Regions from separate parts of the Homo sapiens genome. Here all the other regions are linked to region 3. Evidence: promoter capture Hi-C in human tissues and cell types (Jung and others, 2019). All regions are on one chromosome and are shown on one strand. Each heading gives the region's core, a stretch centred on a gene start or on the middle of the fragment in contact. The rest is flanking DNA. Distances are from core to core; before and after follow the strand shown. Region 1 overlaps RBBP8-AS1 (RBBP8 antisense RNA 1). Region 2 overlaps RBBP8-AS1 (RBBP8 antisense RNA 1). Region 3 holds the start of GATA6 (GATA binding protein 6). Region 4 overlaps RBBP8-AS1 (RBBP8 antisense RNA 1).

Region 1 (3,133 bases), core at 225-2,724, 610 kb before region 3:
AGCAGGTAGATGTAGCTCACAGACAGAAATAATATATGGTATGAGAAAGGCTTATAATTTGCATGAAGAGATAAAATATTCACATCTTAAAAATCACTACTGAAAATTGATCAGGAATATCTGTTCCAATACCTTAAATATATTTTTGGCATGTACTTACTTAATTACATATTTTTCTTTAAAAAATTTTTAATGTAATACATTATACTAATAGATTTCTTAAAATTGGGAAATGTTGCTTTCTGGAATAAACTTTGCTTAGTTATAGAATATAACTATTTTAACACATTGCTAGATTTAATTTGTTAATATCTGGTTTCAGATTTTAATTGTAAGTATTCTAGTTTTCTTGTTGGAATATGTTTGTCAGGTATTGGCATTAATATTATGATAGAACTGTAAATTGAATTGGGAAGCCTTCTATTGTTGTTCCTTGAATTTAGGGACAACTTATCCACAAACATCCTGAATCTGGTACCATTTTTAATTGTAGAGCTTTAATATATGTATATTATATATAAAAAATATATATATATTTTCAAATTCTGTAGTTGTTGGGTTGTTTAGGTGTTCTACTTGTCATTTAGTTAATTTGGGGAATTTATATTTTGATAGAACATCATTTGTTTCCTTTAGATTTTCAAGTTTGTTGTCATAAGAAAAGTGGTAGCGGGGAGGGGCCAAGATGGCTGACTAGAAGCAGTTGCCATCAGAGGCTCCCACCAAGATAATGAAAATGGCCAACGAATCCTGCACTGGCAACTGTGGTATCCAGGTTCTCTCATTGAATTAGGCAGTTGGCGCAACCCATGGAGAGTGAGGAAAAGCAGGGTGGAGCAATGGCCCTCCTGGGAGTGCAGGGGAAGGGGAGCTCCCACCCCCAGCCAAGGGAGGTGTGAGTGATTGTGCTACCTGCCCCAGGAAACCACACTTTTTCCACAGATCTGTGCAACCCACAGGTCAGGATATCCCCCTTGTGAGTCCGTGCCACCAGGGCCTTGGGTCCCAAGCATAGAGCTGTGAAGATTCTTGGTGGCCACTTGGCTGGAGACTGCCTAAGACTACTGAGTTTCCAGGGGGAGGGTTGACCACCATCACTGCATTCTCCTGCTGCCTAAGATGACTGAGCACCTGCGGGGAGGGGCAGGAGCCATCACTGCAGCTCCAGTCTGCTGTTTTCCCCCTGCCAGTGCTGGGGATACTGGGTGATTTGGACTCAGGAGGAATTCCCCATGGCACAGCACAGCAGCTATGGCAGATTGTGGCCAGACTGCCTCTCTAGGCTGGACCCTGACCCATCGCTCCTCACTGTGCAGGGCCTTCCTGTGGGAATTTCAGCAATTCCAACCAGGGGTTTACAGACAGAACTCTGATCTCCCTGGGACAGAGCCCCAGGGAGGAGGGGCAGTCTCTGCAGATCAGCAAACTTAGTCTTTCCCAGTGCTGACTGTGGAATCCGGGCAGTCCTGATGAATGGGATTCCCCACAGTGCAGTGCATCCCCTCTGCCAAGGGACAGCCAGAGTGCTTTGTTAAGGGGGTTCCTGATCCTGTCCGTCTTGACTGGATGAGACCTCCCCTCCCCCTGCCCACCCACAGGGGTTGCGAGGCACCTTATACAGGAGCTTTTCTGCTGGCATCAGGTCAGTCCCCTTCCGGGACACAGATCCCAGAGGAAGGTGCAGGCAGCCATCTTTGCTGTTTTGCAGCCTCCAGTGGTGATACCTCCAGGTAGGGAGGGACCCAGGCAAATAGGGTCTGGAGTGGACCCCCAGCAAACTGCAGAAGCCTTACGGAAGAAGGGCCTGACTGTTAAAAGAAAAACAAACAAACAGAAAACACAGTAACAACCGCATCAACAAAAAAGTCCCTCCAAAAACCCCATCCAAAGGTCAGCAGCCTCAAAGATTGAAGCTAGATGAACTCATGAAGATGAGAAAGAATCAACAAAAAAAATGCTGAAAACTCAAGAAACCAGAGTGCCTCTTCTCCTCCAAATGATCGCAAGACCTCTCCAACAGGGGCATAGAACTGAGTGGAGGCTGAGATGAATTAATTGACAGAAGTAGGCTTCTGAAGGTGAGTAATAACAAACTTTGCTGAGCTAAAGGCAGATGTTCTAACCCAATGCAAAGAAGCTAAGAGCCATGATAAAACATTACAGGAAATGTTAACCAGAATAACTAGTTTAGAGAGGAACATAAATGACCTGATGGAGCTGAAAAGCACAACACAAAAGAACTTCACAATGCAACCACAAGTATCAATAGCCGAATGCATCAAGTGGAGGAAAGCATTTCAGAGATTGAAGACTATCTTGCTGAAATAAGGAAGGCAGACAAGATTAGAGAAAAAAGGATGAAAAGGAGTGAACAAAACCTCTGAAAACTATGGGATAATGTAAAAAGACTGAACTTATGACTGATTGGGGTACCTGAAAGAGATGGGGAGAATGGAACCAGGTTGGAAAACATACTTCAGGATATCATACAGGAGAACTTTCCCAACCTAGCAAGACAGAACAACATTCAAATTCAGGAAATCCAGAGAACCCCAGTAAGAGACTCCATGAGAAGATAAATCCCAAGACACATAATTATCAGATTTTCCAAGGTTAAAATGAAGGAAAAAACATTAAGGGCAGCCAGAGAGAAAGGCCATGTCACCTACAAAGGGAAGCCCATCAGACTAACAGTTGACCTCTCAGCAGAAACTCTACAAGCCAGAAGAGATTGGGGGCCAATATTCAACATTCTTAAAAGAATTTTCAACCTAGAATTTCATATCCAACCAAACTAAGCTTCATAAGCGAAGGAGAAATAAAATCCTTTTCAGACAAGCAAATGCTGAGGGAATTCTTCACCACTAGGCCTGCCTTGCAAGAGCTTCTGAAGGAAGCACTAAAGATGAAAAGGAAAAATCATTATCAGCCTACACCACAAAAGTCATTACCAGTCTAACACTACAAAAACACATGGAAGTACAAAGACCAATGATACTATGAAGCGACTACATCAACAAGTGTGCAAAATAACTAGTTAGCGTCATGATGACAGGATCAAATTTACACATAACAATATTAACCTTAAATGTAAATGGGCTAAATGCCCCAATTAAAAGACACAGAACAGCAA
Region 2 (3,302 bases), core at 229-2,728, 590 kb before region 3:
TTGACTAATTGATTTGCCTAAAGCTACACAACAGATTAAATGGTAGAGCTGGGACTGTAACTCAGGTCCTGTGACTAGAAACCCTGTGATTTCTAGCCCTGTGACCTATTTATTATAGGGCTTCCTGAGACACAGGACTTTCATGCTAAAACCAGAACAGTCCATGACAAACCAGAATGGGTGGTCATCCTAATTTTATCATATGTTCCTCTGCACCCCCAAGATGGAAACCTCTGACGCCTGGAAAGCTAGGATTATAGCTCAGCACCTGGCTTTGGCTCAAGTTTCAAAAGGCTTTCCAGAACATTTAACTATTCAAATATGGAAATGGTCTGCACTAAGTGGCAAGGAGCTCCCAATTCCCAGATGTAGTAAAAATGAAGCTGGATTCTACCTGTCAGAATTGTTGAAGATAAGAATTCTCTATTGGGCTTGTCAGTGAAGACCATTTCTGTAGTTTTTTCTATCACTGTCATTCTGCATTTCAGACAGAGAGGTGTCCTTTCTTGGATCCTGAGGAGATCCCCCAGGCTCTTTTTTATTTATTTAACTTTAAGTTCTGGGATACATGTGCAGAACATAAAGGTTTGCTACATAGGTGTATACATGTGCCATGGTGGTTTGCTGCACCTGTCAACCTGTCATCTAGGTTTTAAGCCCCACATGCATTAGGTATTTGTCCTAATGCTCTCCCTCCCCTTGCCCCCAACCCCCTGACAGGCCCTGGTGTGTGATGTTCCAATCCTGTGTCCATGTGTTCACATTGTTCAATTCCCACTTATGAGTGAGAACATGTGGTGTTTGGTTTTCAGTTCCTGTGTTAGTTTGCTGAGAATGATGGTTTCCAGCTTCATCCATGTCCCTGCAAAGGACATGAACTCATCTTTTTTTGTGGCTATGTAGTATTCCATGGTGTATATGTGCCACGTTTTCCTTGTCCAGTCTATCATTGATGGGTATTTGGGCATTTTTTTCTTTTTTATTATACTTTAGGTTTTGGGATACGTATGCAGAACATTCAGGTTTGTTACATAGGTATACATGTGCCATGGTGGTTTGCTGCACCCATCAACCAATGTCATCTACATTAGGTATTTCTCCTAATACTATCCCTCCCATATGCCCCCACCCCTTGACAGGCCCCGGTGTGTGATGTTCCCCTCCCTGTGTCCATGTGTTCTCATTGTTCAACTCCCACTTATGAGTGAGAACATGTTGTGTTTGGTTTTCTGTTCCTGTGTTTGCTGAGAATGATGGTTTCCAGCTTCATCCATGTTGTCTGCAAGGACATGAACTCATCCTTTTTTATGGCTGCATAGTATTCCATGGTGTTTATGTGCCACATTTTCTTTATCCAGTCTATCATTGATGGGCATTTGGGTTGGTTCCAAGTCTTTGCTATTGTGAATAGTGTTGCGATAAACATAAGTGTGCATGTGTCTTTATAGTATAATGATTCATAATCCTTTGGGTATATACCCAGTAATGGGATTGCTGGGTGAAATGGTATTTCTGGTTCTAGATCCTTGAGGAAACGCCACACTGTCTTCCACAATGGTTGAACTAATTTACATTCCCACCAACAGTGTAAAAGCGTTTCTATTTCTCCACAGTCTTTCCAGCATCTATTGTTTCCTGACTTTTTAATGATTGCCATTCTAACTGGTGTGAGATCGTATCTTATTGTGGTTTTGATTTGCATTTCTCTAATGACCAGTGATGATAATTTTTTTTTCATGTTTCTTGGCTGCATAAATGTGTTCTTTTGAGAAGCGTCTGTTCATATCCTTTGCCCACTTTTTGATGGGGTTGTTTTTTTCTTGTAAATTTGTTTAAGTTCATTATAGATTCTGGATATTAGCCCTTTGTCAGATGGATAGATTGAAAAAATTTTCTCCCATTTTGTAGGTTGCCTGTTCACTCTGATGATAGTTTCTTTTGCTGTGCAGAAGCTCTTTAGTTTAATTAGATCCCATTTGTCAATTTTGTCTTTTGTTGCCATTGCTTTTGGTGTCTTAGTCATGAAGTCTTTGACCATGCCTATGTCCTGAATGGTATTGCCTAGGTGTTCTTCTAGGGTTTTTATGGTTTTAGGTCTTATGTTAAGTCTTTAATCCATTTGAGTTAAATTTTGTATAGGATGTAAGGAAGGGGTCCAGTTTCAGTTTTCTGCACATGGCTAGCCAGTTTTCCCAACACCATTTATTAAATAGGGAATCCTTTCCCCATTGCTTGTTTGTGTCAGTTTTGTCAAAGATCCAATGGTTGTAGATGTGTGGCATTATTTCTGAGGCCTCTGTTCTGTTCCATTGGCCTATATATCTATTTTGGTACCAGTACCATGCTGTTTTGGTTACTGTAGCCTTGTAGTATAGTTTGAAGTCAGGTAGCATGATGCCTCCAGCTTTGTTCTTTTTGCTTAGGATTGTCTTGGCTATACGGGCTCTTGTTTGGTTCCATATGAAATTCAAAGAAGTTTTTCTAAATCTGTGAAGAAAGTCAATGGTAGCTTGCTAGAGATAGCATTGAATCCATAAATTATTTTGGGCAGTATGGCCATTTTCCTGATATTGATTCTTCTTAACCATGAGCATGGAATGTTTTTCCATTTGTTTGTGTCCTCTCTTATTCCTTGAGCAGTGGCTTGTTGTTCTCCTTGAAGAGGTCCTTCACGTCCCTTGTAAGTCGTATTCCACGGTATTTTATTCTCTTTGTAGCAATTGTGAATGGGAGTTCACTCGTGATTTGGCTCTCTGTCTATTTTTGGTGTACAGGAATGATTGTGATTTTTTTCACATGTATCCTGAGACTTTGCTGAAGTTGCTTATCAGCTTAAGGAGATTTTGGGCTGAGACGATGGGATTTTCTAAATATACAATCATGTCATCTGCAAACAGAGACAATTTGACTTCCTCTCTTCCTATTTGAATACGCTTTATTTCTTTCTCTTGCCTGATTGCCCTGGCCAGAACTTCCAATACTATGTTGAATAGGAGTGATGAGAGAGGGCATCCTTGCTTTGTGCTGGTTTTCAAAAGGCATGTTTCCAGCTTTTGCTCATTCAGTCTGATATTGGCTGTGGGTTTGTCATAAATAGCTCTTACCATTTTGAGATATGTTCCATCGATAGCTAGTTTATTGAGTGTTTTTAGAATGAAGGGGTGTTGAATTTTATTGAAGGCCTTTACTACATCTATTGAGATAATCAAGTGGTTTTTGTCATTGGTTCTGTTTATGTGATGGATTACATTTATTGATTTGCATATGTTGAACCAGCCTTTCATCCCAGATATGAAGCAGAC
Region 3 (3,009 bases), core at 259-2,758:
TGGGGGAGACGGGTATGGTAGGAGATCGACGGGTTAACAAGAGCGTAGGCTGCACGCTACCTCGCCTCCACTCCTTTTTCTAGTTCAAATGGGATCTGACTTCTCAAAGATCCCATTTGAGACTTCTCAAAGATCCTATTTCTGCCCCGGGCGTGGAGATCAATAAGGGAGGGGAAGGGAGCCTGCGCAGCCGCCACAGGGCCCTGGAAGGGCTGGGATACCAGCCCTCCCTCAAAGGCACCGCTCCGGTCCCCGCGTCCTCCCCGCCCACCCCCTCGGCCGCATCCTTTCTCCGTGCGCGCGCCAGATCCCAGGGGTGATCTGCAGAAGCTGGCTGAGGCTTTCCTTCCGCCCTAAAGTGTCTCCCCCGGGCTGATGACACACAAAAGAATTTAAGTAGCTGTGCGTGTCGGCACCGCCGCATCCCGCCTCTCTGCGGATGCCCCTCTCCCGAAATGCCTCGGGGTGAGGGTTCCCCACGGGAAAACCCTTCGCGTAAGGAAGGCAACCTGTCCCCGAAAACGAAACCGCCGCGTTCTCCTATATTGGCTCTCCCAGAGCTTCCCGGACTGCGCTGACCAGCCCGAACGCGAGCCCCAGAGAGAAATGCAACTCGGCCCAGGGAAAGTGGGACGCCAGGGCGGGGGCAGCAGTCTGGGTCCTTCCCAGCAGAGGCAATGCGGAGAGCTTGTGGGGCGGGAATCGCCAGCCCCACCGGCGTCCCCGCGGCGCCGCACACCTTAGACACGGCCCGCGCCTGCAGCCACCAGCGTGCGCGCTCACGCCGGCCGGGCCACCCGGCCCACCCCGCGGTCATCTCCAGCAGCAGAAACGCCGGACCGTTCCGGAATCGGACGTAGCGGGGTGGAGCGGAGAGCAGAGAAAAGGAGGGGGAACGCAACGGGCTGGGGAGGGGGGAGCGTGAGACCGCCCCAGAGCCGAGGCGACCCCAAATGGGAGAGCAGGAAGAATGACAGGGAGACTCGGAGCGAGTGGGGGAGGGAGGTGAAATGCAGCCGGGCTGGCCTCCTCCAGGCTGCTCTTCCAAATCGCCTCGGCTCATCGGAGATTACCACACTAAAATTAATGCCCACACACAGACCTGGCTAGATAGCAAGAAAGAAGTTTCTCTGCCTGCCTAACTACCGGCTCCCGCCCCTTTGCGCCGAGATAACTCGGAGATAAGGCTGCGCGCAGATAAGCGCTTCGAGGAGAGAAAAAGAGACTAGAAGTTGGTCCGCGGTGTCCCGGGAGCCTGGGAGCCGCCTCAGCCCGCCCGGAGGGAAGGAGGGAAACACCGTCGGAGCCGACCGCGGCCTGGAGAGGGCCGGAGAGCCGGAGGCCAGGGGCCCGCGACGAGTAGGGGTGGAGGGGAGGAAAGCGGGGAGATCGCGCGAGGAGGAAGCAGCCGAACCTCGGGCGGGCGCTGCGCATGGAGAACGGCCGCGGCGGAGGGTGCTCCCAGGCGCGGAGAGAAGCCGAGGGCGCCAGCGGGCGAGCGCGAGTCCGGGGTCTGCGCCGCGCTGCTGGTGAATAAAAAGGAGAGAGGAGGCGCCTCTTACTGCTCTGCCGGAAAACTGCAGCCTGGGCTCCTGATTGGACTCACCGAGCCCTAAACAAACAGCGCTCGCCGAAGGGTGCCAGGCTGTGGGTCGGAACTGCGCTCAGCGAGCAGCTGGGCGCTGGAGGTGAAGAGGAGGAGGAGGGATCGAGGGGAGGAGAGAAAAGAGGGTGGGGAGGGGACGGCGAGGGGGGAGGGGAGCGCGCCGCCCAGGCAGACAATGAGAGCCGCGCTGCCTGCGGGCGTGGGCTGAGCCGCAAGCCCTGTCCCCGGAGTGGGGGCGAGTCCACCCGGGGGGCACCGAGCCCAGGGACCCCGGGGGAGGGGCGGAGGCCACAGAACGCCTGACCTGGCTAGCGACCCGCACCCATCCAGCGGCGGTGCACCCTCCCGCTCCCGCAGTCGCACACACACACCCACACGAGGGAGGGGGAGGGAGCCTTGGCACGGGAGGAGTTGGCAGTGCACAGTCCCGCGCCGCCGCCGCGGCGGGAGGGGCGCTCCAGACCTTGGGTCAGCACGCCCCCAGAAGGAAGGGGGAACGTGCTCTGCGCCCCCCCGCCCCCCAACCCCCGCCTAGCCCCTTCACAGCAAATGCGCTTTTTGCCCTGAAGTTGTGTGAGACCGACCTTAAACTTTCTCCGACCCTATCTCGGGATGCTACGGCTCAGGTCGTGGTGGTTTCGGGAACCTCAAGACAACATTCCCCAGCTGACCTTTGGGAACTTTAACTCGGGTCGTCATGTACGGAAAGGTAGTCTATGGGGTACGCAGAATGGAAAAGGGCTTCCACATCAGTCGTGTCCGAGGACGCTCTCCAACTTTTGATGTCCCTGGAGAGTTTCTGATATTTCCCTGGAGAGTTTCAGGTAAGTCACAGATAAGTCACTGCGAAGAGGGGGTGTCACCTTCCCTGGACCCAGCGCTAAATGCTGCTTCCCCACCCCCACGTTCATATACACACCCCCTCTTCGCTCCCTCCAAACAGTTATCACAACTCTGTACAAACTGATACGGTCCCTAGCGGGCAAAAGGGACTGGAAATGAACGTCGCGGGGTTATCAGCGCCGATCTGTCAGCGGCAACTCGCGCGGCCGCAGGCTCGTCCGCTGCAGGAGCCGTGATATATGTCTCGCTCCCTTTCGCTTACAGAAAGGATTTCTTCCGACAGACGTGACCCCAGAAGGCTGCCGAGGGAGACTTTAGGACAAGAGGCGTTGTTTTTGTGAGAATGAATTTTTATACTTTACCCCGACCCCACCCCCTACCCCCCGCCCAGGTAAATCCAAGTAAATGATTTTCTGAAGGTCGGTCTCCTAGAAAGCGTTTAGGCTCTGGTTTTTTGTTTTGTTTCTATTTTCGTGTTTTCCCAGTTAGGGAAGGAAGAGGAGCCTGTGCAGAGTTGAACTGGGGTGGAGAGGTGCCTTGTAAAGTATGGTTTCCAGAGA
Region 4 (3,339 bases), core at 399-2,898, 560 kb before region 3:
CATGGGTTATTGGGGAGAGAAAAAAGAAACACGGAAGAGAGTGGAGAGGAAAAGCAATGTGGAAATGATAGTTTACCACTCAGGACTGAGTTTGACATGCAACAAATTCCAAATAATCATGCCTCAAACAAGGTAAAGCTTTATTTATCTCATGTAGAAAAAGTTCCAAGGAACATGGCCTGGGGTTAGCGTGTCCCTCTCTGGTCTTCTGTGACTGGATGCCCATATTTTCTTTCTGTCATCCTTGGTGTGTGGCTTTCAGCTGTAAGTTCTCTTTATGTCCCATGGTGGCTGCTGGAGCTTCAGTCTCCATGTCCACATTCTTGGGGACATGATAAAATAGATAAAATACAGGATACCCAGTTACACTTGAATTTTAGGTAAACAACAAATGATTTTTTAGTGTTAGTATGTTCCAAACTGCATAGAATGTACTTATACTAAAACCAATTATTTGTTGTTTGTCTGAAATTTAAATTTAAGTAGGCACCCTGTGTTTTTATTTTTTAAATGTAACAACCTGACATATTCTAGGCAGAAAGAAGGAGGAAGGAAGGAGGGCAGAAGGTCCCAGGATTGTCCCTCCTGGGTGAGTAAGGCCCTTTCAAACACTTCTACTTACACCTCATTGGTTACCCTTAGCTGCAAGGGAGAATAAATGAATGCCTAGAAGAAAATTGACATTCTGTTAGTAAGGAAGAAGGAAAAAAAATAAATACTGGGTAGACAAATAGAAGTTTCTGTGACAGGCAGAAGTTTGTTCCAGTGCTTCTGTCAGGTGGATGAATGGAGGGATCAGACTTTCACAGCACTTTTTAACAGTTTCTTAAGTGGGACATCTTATAGTCTTCCTTTCAACCTCTTCACTCCTCTACACCAGTTTAGCAGTGTTAGATGCTACAAAGTAACCCAAGGACATTGTCCTTTTTTCTGGAAGACTTTCCTATCCTTTTTGTATGTGGAAAAATATAAATTAATTAGAAAAACTCAGCATATTAAGGTCTGTTTTAGGAATGTCCATAACTTAGGTATTTTGGGCACATGGTTTTGGGCTATGTACTAATTGTTGATTCATTCTATATAGTTTCATCAGTATCTCCTGAGATATAAGTATGAAACACAAACAACCACCTTAGAATAGTTTAAAATAAATCAACAAGCTTTAATCCAACAGACGATAAATATGGAGCTTTCCAATCTAACATACTTCATACTCTCTTGGCTATAGAAAGAAGTCCATTTATGCTGAAATATTTGTCAATGATAAGAATGAATTCCTTGTTAATGAGTAATTTATTGTTAACAAGTAACAAGTAAAGGCATTTTAACATAGCACAGGAGGAGGATATTCAATATAGTCAAAGGCAACACTAAGCAGACAAGAAAACAAATAGGTTTATGAAAATGGGATATTTGAGCCCTTGAAAAGCTTATGTCTACAAATGACCAGTTTTTAAAAGAATTCTGGCAATAGATACAGAACTGATATAGTAGTATGGCATTTAGAAATCCACAAAATAGCTTTGATCTTGGATCATGCTATGCAGTGGCTACAGGACTAGGCAGCAGCAGGGGCATAAGGTATCCCAATAATACCTCTGCTCAATGACCCAAGGCCTGGCAGGAGAAATGTTGGGCTGGGAGACTTGAAGATCATGTTTGGTGGTGAAGCCAAGCAGATGGTTCACCTGAAGCATTGCTTCAAGAGGGCTAATTAGAGAAACAAACCTAGGTACTTGCCAAGGTACCCGAGTATGCAGGTTGGAATGAGAGTAGAAGGCAAAGCCTCCTTTGGGTTTGCACAAGATCCAGAGTGCAGGGGACAAAGACTTTTTGTAGTGTGTACTCAGGCTTTTGTGTAGGTGGGAAGGTGCAGTTAAGAGCACTGTGCTGGTCTGGACAAGGGTCAAGGAGACACACAGCATAGTGGTAAGAAGTATGGTGATTCCTTGTTTGCCTGGGACTCAGTTCCAGATCATAGGACTTACAGCATAAACTGGGAAAGTCCTGGTCATACTATGAAAAAAGAAGGTGTTGAAATCCCAAGTGGACTTTGGGCCCAGTTGGCCTATACAGTAAGGAATCACCAGTTATCAAAGCTGAAAGATACCTCAGAGGCTGTCCATCTATGCAAAACTTTTTTTTTCTTTTATTATTATACTTTAAGTTTTAGGGTACATGTGCACATTGTGCAGGTTAGTTACATATGTATACATGTGCCACGCTGGTGCGCTGCACCCACTAACTCGTCATCTAGCATTAGGTATATCTCCCAATGCTATCCCTCCCCCCTCCCCCCACCCCACAACAGTCCCCAGAGTGTGATGTTCCCCTTCCTGTGTCCCTGTGATCTCTTTTTTAACTCAATTAAGATCTCTCTCAATCAGCAGTCCCCAAATTTTTTGTCACCAGGGACCGGTTTCACAGAAGACAATTTTTCCACAGACTGGGGTGGAGTAGGGAGGATGACTTTGGGATGATTCAACCACATTACATTTATCATGCACTTTATTTTTATTGTAATATATAATGACATAATTATGCAACTCACCATAATGTAGAATCAGTGGGAGCTCTGAGCTTGTATTCCTGCAACTGGATGGTCCCATCTGGGGGTGATGGAGGACAGTGACATGGAAGTGTGTTGCTTATGTCCAGTCTGCTCCGTAATCTCGTTTTGGTTGCTGTCACTGCAGAAAATTCTGCTTCACTAAGATAGGATGCTGGGAACGGAAGTAGGCTTTTCAGTGCTTTTGTGGCAATCACAGGATATTTCACCTTGACTTTAATCCAGAACTATGGAGATTTGAAGTTTTCTCAAACATACTTTTAAGGCTACCATCATATGCAATCTCAAGCAGTTGATCCTCTTCTAGCATGGACAAAATCTATTCACCTGGCATATTCACAAATGAGTCACAGATCCATTCCTTCCCAGTTTGGGAGTCTTTTGTGTTGGGAAGTAATGCTCAAACTCTTGAAAGCTGAGATAGGTGATCATCCACCAGCTGGGAGAAAGACAGCCCTGGCTCTGTCTCTTTCAATATCTTTGCTAATGTTTGAAACATGTCAGAGACCCCAGTTCCCAATGTTCACTTGTTGCCCCTATAATTCCAGTTTGGCTTTGAATGAAGCGAATTTATCTGCCAACTTGAATACAGTTGTCATTCTCCCCTGAAGTGACATGTTGATTTTATTGAACAGGTTGAATATGTCCCAAAAGTAAGCAAGTTTTGGGACTCATTCTATGTCACTGAAATGTGTTGCCAGTGGTGATTCTTTTTCTAAAAGAAATCTCTGCAGTGGCTCTCATAACTCAAAAACTCTGGCCAGTGATCT

The links. The method cuts DNA at HindIII sites, captures the fragments that hold promoters and counts their contacts. A contact is called where the count stands out against the background at its distance.
Region 1: a fragment that was not itself captured here is called in contact with the fragment with the promoter of GATA6 in region 3 in 2 of the 25 tissues and cell types used here (IMR-90 fibroblasts and aorta).
Region 2: a contact is called between a fragment that was not itself captured here and the fragment with the promoter of GATA6 in region 3, in 2 of the 25 tissues and cell types used here (IMR-90 fibroblasts and aorta).
Region 4: a contact is called between a fragment that was not itself captured here and the fragment with the promoter of GATA6 in region 3, in 1 of the 25 tissues and cell types used here (aorta).

Annotation. Positions count from the first base shown.
Region 1 is chr18:22,782,170-22,785,302 of GRCh38, reverse strand. The region is part of intron 3 of RBBP8-AS1 (RBBP8 antisense RNA 1); the gene reads left to right. Among named protein-coding and RNA genes, the nearest start is that of RBBP8, 150 kb to the left of the region's middle. RefSeq lists enhancers at 554-1,103, 1,104-1,653. The HindIII fragment of the contact is 7,530 bases long and covers 1-3,133 here.
Region 2 is chr18:22,762,204-22,765,505 of GRCh38, reverse strand. All of the region lies in intron 3 of RBBP8-AS1 (RBBP8 antisense RNA 1), which reads left to right. Among named protein-coding and RNA genes, the nearest start is that of RBBP8, 170 kb to the left of the region's middle. The HindIII fragment of the contact is 5,775 bases long and covers 1-3,302 here.
Region 3 is chr18:22,168,088-22,171,096 of GRCh38, reverse strand. GATA6 (GATA binding protein 6) reads right to left here and starts at 1,508. Exons shown (of 7, transcript NM_005257.6): 1 at 1,415-1,508. It overlaps GATA6-AS1 (GATA6 antisense RNA 1 (head to head)), which reads left to right and starts at 2,129. Exons shown (of 2, transcript NR_102763.1): 1 at 2,129-2,430; 2 at 2,714-3,009. RefSeq lists an enhancer at 1-138. The HindIII fragment of the contact is 12,336 bases long and covers 1-3,009 here.
Region 4 is chr18:22,726,887-22,730,225 of GRCh38, reverse strand. The region is part of intron 4 of RBBP8-AS1 (RBBP8 antisense RNA 1); the gene reads left to right. Among named protein-coding and RNA genes, the nearest start is that of RBBP8, 200 kb to the left of the region's middle. The HindIII fragment of the contact is 3,429 bases long and covers 1-3,339 here.